4 separate regions of the Homo sapiens genome follow, and all the other regions are linked to region 1. The links are contacts of gene promoters, found by promoter capture Hi-C in blood cells and fetal thymus (Javierre and others, 2016). All regions are on one chromosome and are shown on one strand. Each heading gives the region's core, a stretch centred on a gene start or on the middle of the fragment in contact. The rest is flanking DNA. Distances are from core to core; before and after follow the strand shown. Region 1 holds the start of OSGIN1 (oxidative stress induced growth inhibitor 1). Region 2 overlaps LOC124903735 (a long non-coding RNA gene). Region 3 overlaps ATP2C2 (ATPase secretory pathway Ca2+ transporting 2). Region 4 overlaps USP10 (ubiquitin specific peptidase 10).

Region 1 (3,395 bases), core at 719-3,218:
CTGATACCCTCGAATGGCTCTGGGCCCCTCAGTCCTCATCATGGTCCCCGGGAACAGCAGCCACTGGGGAGCATGGGACCTCCTGGTAAAGGGCTTCCCCGCATCACCTCCTTTGATCCTCCTAGCAACCCACTTTGCAGATGAGGAGACTAAGGCTAGGAGAGGTGAAGCCGTGCCCTGAGGCTACAGAGCCGGTGGGCGATGGAACTGATATTTGATCCCCGTGGGCTGACACCCCCAGGCACCCCAGCCCCTTCACCAAACGAGTGAGCCAACCTGCTCCATCTGCCCCAGTGCGCCCACCCTGGGCCATGCCCTGCCCCTCCTTTGTTCTTTCAGATTTTCCCACCACCCCAAGAAGGGCATTTGCAGGAGCCCCTGCTGGCCAATGAGGAATCAGAACTGGCTGCCCCTTCCCACCCTTTGCAGGCAGCAGAGGACACTGGTTTACCACCAGGGCTTTGGGGCTCCAAGTCCAGGGCTCCCTCCTGGGACTGTCCTCAGGCTCTTGAACAGAAGCTTCTGGATGCCACATACATGAGGTCACCACCCAGGGGCTGGACCTGAGAAGTCACTTCCCGTTCAGAGTGACACAGGACGCCCCAAAGTCCGAAGCAGCTTGACGCTGTCACTCATAACCTCGGACAAATATGCTGCCAACTTACAAAAGAGAGTTCAAAAGTTTCATTTCAATTCCTTTTGTGCTTTTTAGTTTTACGGAGTTGGAAGAATCAATTTTTAATGTTATCTTTTTAAGTCCCTTTAATTGAAGATGGCAGATGTTGATGGAAAGAAGTTAACATTAAAAATTGATGTTTCAAATTTCACAAAGGCAAACAGGATAAAAGAAATGAAAACAGTTGCACCTTCGACTGACGTTTCTTTCAAGTGTGCGGCATTTGTACTTCTGAGGTTGTTAAAGCTGCAAACTGCTCTGAGACTCTGGGACACCTGTATGTCTGCGTTTCTTTGGCACCTCTAGTGGCCATTTACTCCTTTGCCTTTGAAGACACCCCAGGAGGTGGGTGTTCTTATCCCCATTGTGCAGAGGAAGAAAAGCTGGTCAGGAGGAGTGGGCGTCTTGCCCCAGGTCACCTAGGAGGGTCCAAGACCACGGCCATGTGACAAATCTTAGTTCTGCCAAGTCCCCTCCAGTAAAACAGCTGATTACAGGGAGACCAAGAAAGTGACACGAAGCCCTGGGGGCGCTAAAGTGTGAGGGGGTGGTCTGTCCACGCAAGCGGCACTTGCCATTTATCACAGACGAGCCCTCGCCCCAGTGCCGCACACCTGGAGCCCAGGGTCTCCTGCAGCTCCCCAGCCTCCCAGGGGCCGCCCTCCCAACCCGCCGCACTCTTGAGCCTCCTGAGAGAAGCTAAGTCGCTGGGACCTCCAGGGATGGGGGCTGTTCATGGGCACCCAAGGGCTCTGTCCCTCCTGAGCAGGAGAAGCAGAAACCCAGAAGGCACCCAGCCTGGCTGCCGACCCAGTGGCCTTGGAACAGCTGGGCAGTAAGCCCGGGCTGGCCACACCCCTCTTTCCTGCTAGGAGCGGCGGTCACATGGCCCAGGGTACGCTGGGACTGTGGCCGCTTCAGCTGCTTGGCTGAGGGTACCAGGCACCTGGACAGGGACACAGCTGAGGATCTGGGAGGAACCTGGTGTAGGGGAGAATCCTGCCGGGCTCCAGAGAACCCAGGCGAGGGCCTCCACTCAGGACCACCCGGGACCCCCGCCTGGCGCCAGGGCTCTGCAGACCCTCCGGTCCAGCTGGGCTTGCCACGGGTGCCTGGGATGTGCCTGATTCCCTGCCCCGGAACCTGGCCCCGGACACTCACCTGACAGGCAGTGGTGCAGGAGCCCAGTGAGCCCGGCCAAGTTGTGCACTAGGAGGGTCAGGGGAACACGGATCACAGAGTCCCCCGCGAGATCGGGACACCCATTACCCTGTGGGGATCCAAGAGGCTCTGAGAGGCCAGAGGGAAGTGAGGGTATTTCACGGGGAGGGAGGAGGCGGCGCAGGCAGTGGGCGGGGCCAGGAAAATCACTTTCATAAGCGTGAGTCAGCAGGGGCCCGTGATGAATGAACTTGCACACTGGGCGGGTGTCACGCTGCCTGCCTCATGGCCAGCCTTAAAGGGCCCCTGCTGGGCGGCCTGCCAGGGGGCCTAGGGTGGCGCTCCCTCCCAGCCACCTCCCCCTAGCCAGACCCCCATCCCTGGGGCTCAGTCTCTGGAGGAGGAACCAGTGACCTCTGAATGAGCCAGCCTGGCCTTTGCCATAAGCGAAGAGGAGATGGCTTTGTCCCGCACACAGTTAAAATAACAGTACCTTTAAGTGGCGAAACCCCGTCCAGTTCCCGCATTCCACCTGGATTTCACTGCACCCTCCAATCCCCAAAAGCCCTCTGGCACCAGCCTGCCTGGGCTGCGAATCCAGCTTTGCCATTTCCCAGCTGCAGGGCTCTGGCAAGCTGCCTTAGGGCCCGCACCTCAGTTTCCTCATCTGAAAACTGGGGCCAAGTCACAGATTGTCTCTACCAGAGTGGCCGTGAGGGTTTACATGACATCCTTCTTGTCTGCCATGCTTAGAACTTGAAGCCTGCTCCCAGGCTCTTCTCTCCTGTTTTATGTGGGTAGCACTGCACACCCCACACCTTGCTGTTTCTTAATTATTATTATTTTGAGAAGGAGTTTCGCTCTTGTTTCCCAGGCTGGGGTGCAATGGCGCGATCTCGGTTCACTGCAACCTACGCCTCCCGGGCTCAAGTGATTCCCCTGCCTCAGCCTCCTGAGTAGCTGAGATTACAGGCATGTGCCACCACGCCCGGCTAATTTTGTATTTTTGGTAGAGATAGGGTTTCACCATGTTGGCAAGGCTGGTCTCGAACTCCCGACCTCAGATGATCCGCCCGCCTCAGCCTTCCAAAGTGCTGGGATTACAGGCGTGAGATGCCACACCTGGCCTATTTCTGAATTATTTTATTGTCTCTCTTCCCAAACCAGAATGTGAGCTCTGTGTGGGCAGGGAAGTATATTCGTGACTGCTCTACACAGTGTCTAGAACAGCGCTTAGGACACATAGGCACTCAACATCGGTTAAACAGAAGGGAGGCAGGGAGGGAGGGAAGCAGGGGGGGAAGGAGGGAGGAAGGCAGGGAGGGAGGGAAGTAGGGAGGGAAGGAGGGAGGAAAGCAGGGAGGGAAGGAGGGAGGGAAGGAAGGAGGTAGGGAGGGAAGCAGGGGGGGAAGGAGGGAGGAAGGCAGGGAGGGAGGGAAGTAGGGAGGGAAGGAGGGAGGAAAGCAGGGAGAGAAGGAGGAAGGAGGAAGGGAAGAGGGAGGGAAAGAGGGAGGAAGGGAAAGAGGGAGGAAGGCAGGGAGGGAGGGAAGGAGGGATG
Region 2 (3,509 bases), core at 942-3,441, 560 kb before region 1:
CACTCCAGGAATCTCTGACCCAAGAGCTGTGTGTGCGGCTTGAGGATTTTTGTAGTTTAACAAGTTCCTAAGGGGCTGCTGTGAGTCAAAACCCACACTGAGGACCAGAGCTGCCGGGGTTCCAGCCCTGGTGTTGGGTATTTCTCTCTCCAAATAACTTACTACCCTTTCCCCGCAAAACAGCAGGCGGCAGATGAGGGTCCATCCTTTGTGCCGAAACCCCTATTAACCTCAATAGGGAAGGCACCAGGTTCAAGAGGCCAACGAAGAGACTCAGAGACAGTGAACGAGACACAGGTTTTACTGCGGCGTACGGACAGGGGAGAGCGGGCTGCACAGGAGAGCCACGGCCGTCTGCAAACATCGTGCAGTTTACCCAGCATTTTCATTTAACCCCCTCCCCCTAACGGCCTCCACCTGGCAACCTGCATTTAACCAAAAACTCAGGGCCTCAACCTCCTGTACAGCTCGTGTTCCACGGGCCAGGCTGGGGTTGGGGTGGGGGAGAGGGAACTGAGGCTCAGATGTGTCTCATAGACAAGGAACGGATCTCGGGGTTGGCCAACCCAGATTCCCTAGCTCGGAACATGCATCCGCGTGCATCTGCCATCCAGGGTCATCCCCACCTTCTCAGGTACACTTCAGTGACTGTCCTCAGGCGCCCTACACCACCTGGCTGCTGTTTCCTGGTTAACCAGGAGAGCAGCTTCGTGACTCCACGCTGGCCTTGCCTGCAGTGTAGTCTCAGTTTTAAAAGCACCCACACCTGAGCCCCGCCCAGACCTGGGACATCGGAATCGTTAGTGTGGGCTCCGCCATGGGTATTTTTAAGAAAACCACAGGTGAACTTTGGATAGGGACTGTGGATTCATTTCCTAGGTCTGCTGTACCACAAACTGCGGGCAGGGGGTTAAAATCACCAGAAATCGACTTCCTCACAGCTCTGGATGCCACAAACCCAAAGTCAAGGTGTCAGCAGGGCTGGTGCATCTCGAGGCCTGTGGACGCTGTCTTCCTGTGTGACTCTTCACAATACCTTCCCTCCGTGCATGGCTGTCTCTGTCCAATGAAAAAGAAAAAAAGGCCATGCATGGTGGCTCCTGCCTATAATCCTAGCACTTTAGGAGGCCAGGGCGGGTGGATCACCTGAGGTCAGGAGTTCAAGACCAGCCTGGCCAACATGGCAAAACCCCAGCTCTATTAAAAATATACAAAAAAAAAAAAAAAAAAATTAGCCAGGCGTGGTGGTGTATGCCTGTAATCCCAGCTACTCAGGAGGCTAAGGCAGGAGAATCGCTTGAATCTGGGAGGCAGAGGCTGCAGTGAACCGAGATCTCACCACTGCACTCCAGCCTGGGCAACAGAGTGAGACTCCACCTCAAAAAAAAAAAAAAAAAATACCAGTCACACTAGATCATAGGCCCAGTACCCTGCTGTGACCTCATCTTAACTAATTCCATCTGCAATGACTCTATTTTCAAATAAGTCACATAGTCATATCCTGGGGCACTGGGAGAAAGACTTTAACACATGAATTTTGTGGAGGGATAGAATTTAATCCAATGAGACTGAATATAAGGTTTGCTTCTGGGCTGGGCGGAGCAGCTCACACCTATAATCCCAGCACTTTGGGAGGCTGAGGTGGGTGGATCACTTGAGTCCAGGAGTTCCAGACCAGCCTGGGCAACTTGGCAAGACCCTGGAAAATAAAATAAAAATCAGCCAGGTGTAGTGGCATGTGCCTGTAGTCCCAGCTACTCGAGAGGCTGACGCGGGAGGATCACTTGAGCCCAGGAAGTGGAGGCTGCAGTGAGCTATGATTGCACCACTGCACTCCAGCCTCAATGACAGCGAGACCCTGTCTCCAAAAAAATAGTTTGTTCCTCCAACCATCATGAGTACATGAAGTACTCAGACCTTGTGAAGGTGCGGATTCTGATTCAGGAGGTCTGGGGTAAAGCCGGGAGACTCTGCATTACCAACCAGAGTCCAGCAATTGACGCTCAGGTTCTATGACAAAATGATTGTTAATGTTGTTAGATGCATTGACAGTTCTGTGGTTAGTACAACGGCATCATTTTTTAAAAAATGCGTCAAATATGTTGAAAGCTTAAATGTCAGAATTGACCCACTTCGAACATTCCAACGAACAGTAGGAAAGGGCAGAATGTTAGCAATGGCTGAGTCTGGGTGGTGGGTATAAAGAGGGCTTGTTTTTTTAGTCTGGTTTTCCGCATATTAGACGTTTTTCATAATCTCTTTGGAAAAGCTTTCCAGCGCCTGGGGCTGAGTATCTCTGGGACGGGCCCTGGGGGATGGGTCTCGTGGGGCCTGGTATCAGTTCCCAGCTGGCGGTCGAGTTCTCTAGGGGAACAGGGCCTGCATGTAGCAGTATTTTTATTATTTTCAACCGCAGTCGCTTCTTCCTGTTGCCTTCTGGGTACTGGGAGGCACCCGGGAAGAGCTGGGATTCTGGGGTCCCCCAGTATGGTTTACCTGCTCTGGGGCAACAGGGACAATTTGGGTTTCTAAGCAACATTCTGGCTGGGTGCCGTGGCTCATGCCTGTAATCCCAGCACTTTGGGAGGCCGAGGTGGGCAGATCACCTGAGGTCAGGAGTTCGAGACCAGCCTGGCCAACATGATGAAACCCCATCTCTACTAAAAATACAAAAATTAGGTGGGTGCGGTGGTGGACCCTGGTCATCCCAGCTACTTGGGAGGCTGAGGCAGGAGAATTGCTTGAACCTGGGAGGTGGAGGTTGCAGTGAGCCGAGATCGCGCCATTGCACTCCAGCCTGGGCGACAGAGTAAGACTCCATCTCAAAAAAAAAAAAAAAAAAAATTCTTTGTTTCTGCTGTTTATTTGCTGACAGTGCATGCGTTTCTTTTCCTTACTGTGTGTGGGGGAGTCTGTGCCATGTTCTTAAGTCCTCTCCCTTGCTGTTTTTATTTAACCCCTTCTGGGTCCCAACTCTACCTGGCGGTGCTTGTGGACTGACCCTTCTCACTACTAGCCCGTGTGTGAGCCTTTACAGGGCATCTCCTCTCCCTCTGGAGGACATGGTCTCTCTCGCTGCCTCCTGTGTCCCCTGCCTTTACGTGATGCCCAGCACATAGGCACTCAAGTGTGCCGAACAGTGACTCTTACAGGTCTGGTCTACTCCCACGGAGCCTAGCTCAGGGAGGTTAATTAACCCATCCAAAGCAACCGAGCTGTGGTCTGAACTTCGGAGCCGGTGCTGTCCAACATCCAAATACAGACAATGGAGGTAGAACACAAGCCCTGTGTGCGATTCTAAGGTTTTCATTGTTCATGTTTTAAAACGAGAAATGGTAACATTAATATGCTTTGAACCTAATATAGCCAAAATACTATTTCTACATGGAATTTCTATTTCACAATTATTTTGGGGCAACATGGAAGAGATCATCGTGGTGATGGAACACTTCTGTATCTTCAGCATAGATGGAATAGTTGTGTTTTGTAGTGATGGTCACACGACTCTA
Region 3 (3,490 bases), core at 161-2,660, 510 kb before region 1:
TTTGTAGATGTTCTTTATCAGGTTGAAGAAGTTTCCTTCAATTCCTAGTTTGAGAGTTTTTATTACAAATGGAGATTGAATTTTATCAAATGCCTTTTCTGCATTAATTGATATAACCATGTGTTTTTCCTTCTTCAGACTATTAATATAGTGAGTTATATTGGTTTTTGAATGTTGAACTTTTCAGTTATATTGGTTTTGAATGTTGAACTTTGGAATGCTTGAATTCCATTCCTCAATTAACCCCACTTCGTCCTGGTGTCTTATATTCTTCGTACCTGGCTAGATCTGATTTCCTCATATTTTGTTGAGGATTTTCGTGCATATATTCATAAGGGATGTTGGTCTCTAGTATTTTTCTCTAGTTTTGGTATCAGAGTGATTGTTGACCTTATAAAATGAGAAGTGCTCGGTCCCCTTTTATTTTTGGAATTCAGTGTATCGAATTGCCATTTCTTTACAAGTTTAGTAAAATTCACCAGTGAAATCATCTGGCTTCAGAAACTGCCTTTTTTGGAAGGGTTTCAACTTCAGCTTATCTATTTAATCTTCAGTGAGTTTTGGTAGTTTTTGGTTTTCAAGCAATTGGTTTATTTCATCCAATTGATTGAATTTAGGTACATAAAGATGTACATAGTATTATTTATTATTATTGTTGGAATATCTTGAAGGGTTTGTGGTGATATACTTTTTCATTCCTGACATTGGTCATTTCTCTTCCCTTTTTTCTTTGATAAGCTTATTGCAAGACTGATAGTTTTATTGATCTCTTCGAAAAACTAGGTTTTGATTGATTTTCCTCTATTTTTGCTTTTTCGTTTGATTTCTGCTCTTTATTTTGGTGACTGTTTCTATGCTACTCGTGAATGGGGTGTTCTACAAGTGTAAATCAAGCTAAGTTGCTTAATGGTGGTGTTCAAGTCTACTGTGTCCTTAATGAAAAGAAGGTCTTAGTTTTAATGTAGTCTAATTTATATTTTATTGTTAGCATTTTGTGTCTTACTACAGTTTTATCCCTAAAGTTTACATAAGCAAGAGTTCAGAGTAATCGACCCTGGTATTTTGATTACTTAATTTTAAATGGGAAGTAAATGTCTCGGGCCAGCAGTGTGCCCAAGGATCCTGAAAAGTAGAGCAAGAATTGTCCCTGACTCAGGGGGAGGCACTCCTTAGCAGACTGTGGAAGTGGCACACTTCAGCCTTGACCTCTTAGTGGTTCCAGGGGTTGGCAGCTTCTAGGAAGACAGCCCCACAGCTCAAAAGGTTTCTTCTCCAGCCAGCCCTGTGTCTGTGTCTCACTAGGAATGGCCCATCGCTGCATCTCCTCCTGTGGCCCTGGTGTCACAGGTTGTAGCCAGAGAGGGGCTTCTTCCCAGGCTGTGAATCCTACTATGGAGGACTTTGGACTCTGCCTGGAACCCTGGCAGGGGTCCACTCTGACCTTCCTTATCTTCGTCTGACCCAGCTGTTACCACCCCTGGTAGCCCTTTTCATAGCTACCGTGGCTGGGTGCAACGGGTACTTTTATCTGACAACTTGGCCAGGCCAAGTTGATTTTCGTCAAACAAACACTGGTCTAGATGGCGCTGTGTAACTAACATGTAAGCCCGTAGACTTGAAGTAAAACAAACAGTTTATCCTTCATAACGTGAGTGGGCCTCATCCGATCAGTTGAGGACTATAAGAGGAAAAGGCTGAACTCCCTTGAGGAGGAGGAAATTCTGCCTCCAGCCTGCATCCCCAGCTCTTCCCTGGGTCTCCAGGATGCTGGCCTGCCCTCAAGATGTTAGACTTGCCAGCCCCCAACATCCTATGAGCCAGTTCCTTAAAACAAATCTCTGCATCTCCCTCCATCCTGTTGGTTCTGTTTCTCTAGTGAGGCCTGACTAGTAAATGGGGGGTTCTAGCTCTGGCCTTATTTCCTGAGAGATGGGGACGGAGTTCCCCTTCTGGTTCCCTTTGGTGGTTCTGGCGTGGCTTCAGGCAGAAGAACAGCATGGAGACCTCTCTCCTCTGCCATCTGTCACGTGGAAGAGCAGATCGGTTTTTGGAAGTCTTTGGGGCAGTGGGAAATCAAGCTTGTCTGCAGGCAGCAGGAGATACTACAGTTCCTGGTTCCGGAGAGAAGGGCCACTTTCTGAGAGAGACTCTTGCTTTGTTGCCCATGCTGCAGTGCAGTGGTACAATCTCCACCTCCTGGACTCAAGCCATTCTCCTGCCTCAGCCTCCCGAGTAGCTGGGATTAACAGGTGTGCATCATCACGCCTGGCAACTGTTTTTTTTTTTTTTTTTAAACTTTTAGTAGAGACAGACAGGGTTTTGCTGTGTTGGCCAGGCTGGCCTCAAGTGATCTGCCTGCCTTGGCCTTGCAAAGTGCTGGGATTACAGGCGTGAGCCACCATGCCCAGCCCTACTCTTTATGTCCAAAAGCCGAGGCCTTCCTGTAGGCCATTCATGATGGATTGCTGCTCACCCCACGTGGCCATTAACACATGGCTGTGGGTTTCCAACCTGGCCCCTTGTATGAAAAACCCTAGGTAAACACATCAAAATAATTATCCCCCGGCATAGCACTTTATTTAAAAGTCCCTCATTTTATGATGAGGAAATGGGGCCTCCAGGAGGGCAATGGGCAGAGTGTGACCATCCTACCCACTGCCTCTCAGGAGCCCCTTGTATCTGCCACGAGTGGCCTGCCTCACTGCAAGCTGTGGCACAGATACGTAGTTAGACATGGTTAATAAAAATCATTGTGATTTAATAAACAGTGTGGTGTTTCTGTACAGGCCCCTCCCTGTCTGTCCCACAGCCAGCGGGAACGCTGGATGGATGTGGGCCTGGGTCCCTGGAGCCCACGAGGTTCCTGCAGCTTTCCTAAGAGGAAAAACTGATCCGGTGATGGAAGGCTGCGGCCTCCTAAAAGTCTCCCCTGACGAGGAGACACGGCAGGGGCCACAGTCACAACCAGATCGAGATGATTAGGGAAGGTGCCGCGGAGTGCGGTCCACTACACATCTTCAGGGTGCATCTGGACTCTCTTGGGGCTGCAACAGTATTTTTCACATAGTTTGAGGAGCTCTGACAAAATGAAGACGGATGAGGCCAATCCAGTTAAAAACAGCAAATCTGCCAAGGGAGAAAACAGAAAAGATTCAGGACGGGCTGCAGCTCTGTTGCGCCGGCAGGAAGCGCCTTCCCTGCCAGTCCTCCTGATAAAGTGAGAGGTGCGGAGGACCAGCCCTTTTCATTCCCCTGAAGGCAGGGAGATCTTCCTAACCCAGAATCCAAAATGCTGCAGTTCCAGAAGGGCCTGCCTGTGGTTCCAGGCAAACACCAGGCAGCTCCAGAGCACAGGGTGGGTCTGGCAGGCAGCTGGGAGCATGTTATGGACTCGGGCTGGAAGGGGAATGAGTTTCCTTTCCCTACAGCAGCTGTCCCAGTGCCCTGCTGCTTGCAAATGTCCTGAGTGACCAGTCTGGGCTCCCTGTCC
Region 4 (3,426 bases), core at 735-3,234, 780 kb before region 1:
AATTAGCCTGCATTTCCCTTTTGCAGGTTACTGTGATTTTGATAAACTCTTTTTATACCCCTCCAAACTTCACCGTATGTTAAAAAATAAGAAAAACAGAAAAGCCCAAATAAGCCCACACACACTACGAGTTCTGAAGCTTGAGCTCATTTTCATGAGACACAGTCACGTCTTCTGTGAATAAAAGGTTTGGCATAACTTACCATCTGTACCCTTTTCATCCATTTCTACTAACATCTGTTACTCACTAGTTATCGGACCATACATTAGCTGATTTCCCAACATTTCTGTGACGTGAATAAGCATTCTGCATTTTTTCAATTTAAAAAACAAAAGAAAGAGAAAAGAAATGGGAGGCCCAAAAGGAAAGAACGTGCCCAAACCCTCCGAGCCTGTGGAAGTGGCAGAACTGAAGCGACCCCAGGCCTTCAGACTTGAAATACGGTGCACTTTTCACTTTCCTATCACATGAAAACTCAAGTTTTTGTCTACTCACTTGCAAACAGGTACCCACCCATCCACATGTGTACACACTTGAGAAAACCTGTAGCAACTAAAACGTATGGTTACATCAGTGTGATGTGGGAAAAAATACAAAATCCCCTTACTTAAAAACACACACACCACACACACACACACACACACACACACACACACACACACACCACCCGGGCCTGGCAGCACACACCTGTAATCCCAGCTATTCAGGGGCTGAAGCATGAGAACCCCCCTGAGGCGGGGCGGGGGGTCAAAGTTGCAGTGAATTGTGATTGCACTCTGCACTCCAGCCTGGGCAGAGTGAGACCCTGTCTCGAAAAAAAGAAAAGAAAAGAAAAAATAGAAATAAAAAAATAAAATAAAACGTGTGGTGTTTATACAGAGATAAGCAATAGGCCCACAGAATAGCACACTCGGAACCAGGGGAGATGCACTGCCCAACGGGGCTGACAGGACAGCTAAGGGCCGAGTTCCCAATGAATGGTGAGGAGGCACCTGCCAGGGCCACAGGGGCAGGGAGTTCGATGCCACCTCACACATATACAAAATTCAGTGCCTCAATTTCAGCTTATTACACACTGAAGCGTGAAAACAAAATCTGAAAACTTTTAGAAGAAAACAGACAAATATCTTCGTTATCTAAAGGATGGGAAGAATTTCCTAAAGATATTTTTAAAACTAAAAATCCACAAACTATAAGGAAAAAAAAATCAATTCAGTTGACATTAAAGTTGAAAGTGTACTCCTCTTATCCAACAACAACAACAAAAAAACCCAACCCCAAAAAGGGTTCACCTAACATGTGAAGCTTAAAGCCCTCATGCTAGGAACAGATGCCTGTAAAACCAAAGATTAATCCTAAAATCAGTAAGAAAAAGACAAGCTACTTGATTTAAAAATATGGACAAGGGATATAAACCAAGTAATTCACAGCAGAGGACATCCGTATTGCCAGCAGACGTGAAGAGAATGAAATAGTACCCAGCTGTTTGTAATCTGGGAGATGTAAATTAAAACAATGAGAGTCCATTTACTACACACATCAGATTCACAAAATTTTAAATATGCCAACACCAAGAGTTAGCAAGATTTTTTTTTTAATACGAGCAAGAAAACTCCCATGCACTGCTGATGGGAATGAAGACTGTTAAAATCCTAGATAGCAAACGAGCAGTCTCTAGTGAAACTAAAGAGGCTCGGTCCACAGAACCCAGTAATTCCATTCCCAGGTCTGTGTCCCGGAGGAGCCCACAGAGGGGCACCAGGAGACATGATAAAATACATTGAGTGCAATATTTTTAACGGCTGAACTAGAGACCTAAATGGCCCTCGACAGGAAAATATGTAAGTAAATTGCAGTGTGTTCAATCAGTGGTACTGAGCACTGGAAATCAAAGAACAAGGACAAATTTCTTAGCATAAAGAATACAACGTTAGCTTAAAATAAACGACAAACTGAATATAGTATACCATTTACGTGACACTTTAAAGCACATAAAACACTACGATTGACTATGGTGATATACACGTATATGATAAAAGGTGAAAACCAGTCAGGACCAATATTTCCCAATTTCAGCAGAGTAGTTACTTCTGGGGAGAGATGGGAGAGAGGTCCAAAGGAGGCTTCAGTTGCATCTGTAATGTTTTATTTGCTTTTCAAAGCCTAATAAAGTAAATACAGCAAAATGTCAAATCAAATGTCAGTCAAATCTAGTTGGTGGGTTGAGGCATTTCTCATATTAGTCTCCATACTTTTCTCTACATTGGAATTCTTTATTTAAAAAAACAAATTAAAATAGAAACATAACTATTAATTGTATCTACCCACGGACTCACTAAAACAAAGTTTTGTCTTACCTCAACTGAAGATCGAGGAGTCACAAAGAATTGATTGAATTCATCAGGGCTAAAATCTCCAAAAATATACTGAAAAAAAATAAGAGAGTCACTGATCACATAAAATATACAAATTATATACTTTCAGAAAAAATGCTACATATTTTAACAATCCTATGCAACATTTGGGCCATAACCCCCAAGATCCTTTCTCAATTAAACAGAGGATCTGCAACTCAGAGTTCTAGGTTGTTTATATAAAAGAAATACTACTGAACCTTTCCTACAAATTGTCAAAGAACACTATGAAACTGATAAAGCTTATTTTGAAACAAATCAATTTTGTATGCCAAACTTGTCGAGTCCTGCTTGCAGGAGATTTTTATTGGTTCACAAATACTGCCAGTTGTTCCATTTACCTTTCTGCTGACTCATGCCACTACCTCCATTTCCGCTTTCTCTGCCAAACATACTAAAGAAAAGCAGAAAACGTGGTTCAAATGGGAAGACAAGGAAATCCAAAAAAGGAAAATGTTAATGATCCTGATTAATGATCTTTAAAAATATCTATATAACTTCTTAGTTTAAAAATGCATTTCCATAGGATACACAGATACACATATTATCAGACAGACACAGCCCTTGTTGCAAGCCTGATTTCACGGAATTCAGAATGTGATTTTCTGGAAAACGAAGTGGTTAAACTGCACGGATGTGAGTCTGGCAAGTGCCTACCAGTTCATATTCTCCATGGAGCTTCAAGAAACAAGTCATTGAGGCCTGGCGCAGTAGCTCACGCCTATAATCCCAGCACTCTGGGAGGCTGACATGGGCGAATCACTTAAGGTCAGGAATTCGAGACCAGCCTGGCCAACATGGTGAAACCCCCATCTTTACTAAAAATACAAAAATTAGCCAGGCGTGGTGGCGTGTACCTGTAGTCCCGGCTGCTCGGGAGGCTGAGCCAGGAGAATTGCTTGAACCAGGGAGGCCGAGGTTGCAGTGAGCTGAGATCGCGCCACCGCACCCCAGCCGGGGCGACAGAGCCAGACTCCATCTCAAAAAGAAAAAAAAAAAAAAGAAGAAGAA

The links. The method cuts DNA at HindIII sites, captures the fragments that hold promoters and counts their contacts. A CHiCAGO score of 5 or more calls a contact.
Region 2: a fragment that was not itself captured here is called in contact with the fragment with the promoter of OSGIN1 in region 1 in 2 of 17 cell types (naive B cells and erythroblasts); the score reaches 5.4 in naive B cells.
Region 3: a fragment that was not itself captured here is called in contact with the fragment with the promoter of OSGIN1 in region 1 in 3 of 17 cell types (naive CD8 T cells, megakaryocytes and erythroblasts); the score reaches 7.9 in naive CD8 T cells.
Region 4: a contact is called between a fragment that was not itself captured here and the fragment with the promoter of OSGIN1 in region 1, in 1 of 17 cell types (total B cells). The highest score is 5.0, in total B cells.

The regions. Positions count from the first base shown.
Region 1 is chr16:83,951,813-83,955,207 of GRCh38, reverse strand. It overlaps OSGIN1 (oxidative stress induced growth inhibitor 1), which reads right to left and starts at 1,968. Exons shown (of 6, transcript NM_182981.3): 1 at 1,838-1,968. RefSeq lists an enhancer at 386-1,155 and a silencer at 1,644-1,693. The HindIII fragment of the contact is 5,629 bases long and covers 522-3,395 here.
Region 2 is chr16:84,516,357-84,519,865 of GRCh38, reverse strand. LOC124903735 (a long non-coding RNA gene) reads right to left here. Exons shown (of 2, transcript XR_007065148.1): 2 at 1,536-1,699. Among named protein-coding and RNA genes, the nearest start is that of MEAK7, 13 kb to the right of the region's middle. The HindIII fragment of the contact is 160 bases long and covers 2,112-2,271 here.
Region 3 is chr16:84,463,250-84,466,739 of GRCh38, reverse strand. ATP2C2 (ATPase secretory pathway Ca2+ transporting 2) reads right to left here. Exons shown (of 27, transcript NM_014861.4): 27 at 2,553-3,126. The coding sequence ends at 3,008. All of the region lies in intron 1 of ATP2C2-AS1 (ATP2C2 antisense RNA 1), which reads left to right. Among named protein-coding and RNA genes, the nearest start is that of ATP2C2-AS1, 2.4 kb to the left of the region's middle. The HindIII fragment of the contact is 1,340 bases long and covers 741-2,080 here.
Region 4 is chr16:84,732,436-84,735,861 of GRCh38, reverse strand. USP10 (ubiquitin specific peptidase 10) reads right to left here. Exons shown (of 14, transcript NM_005153.3): 2 at 2,359-2,427. Among named protein-coding and RNA genes, the nearest start is that of USP10, 34 kb to the right of the region's middle. RefSeq lists an enhancer at 1-431. The HindIII fragment of the contact is 1,351 bases long and covers 1,309-2,659 here.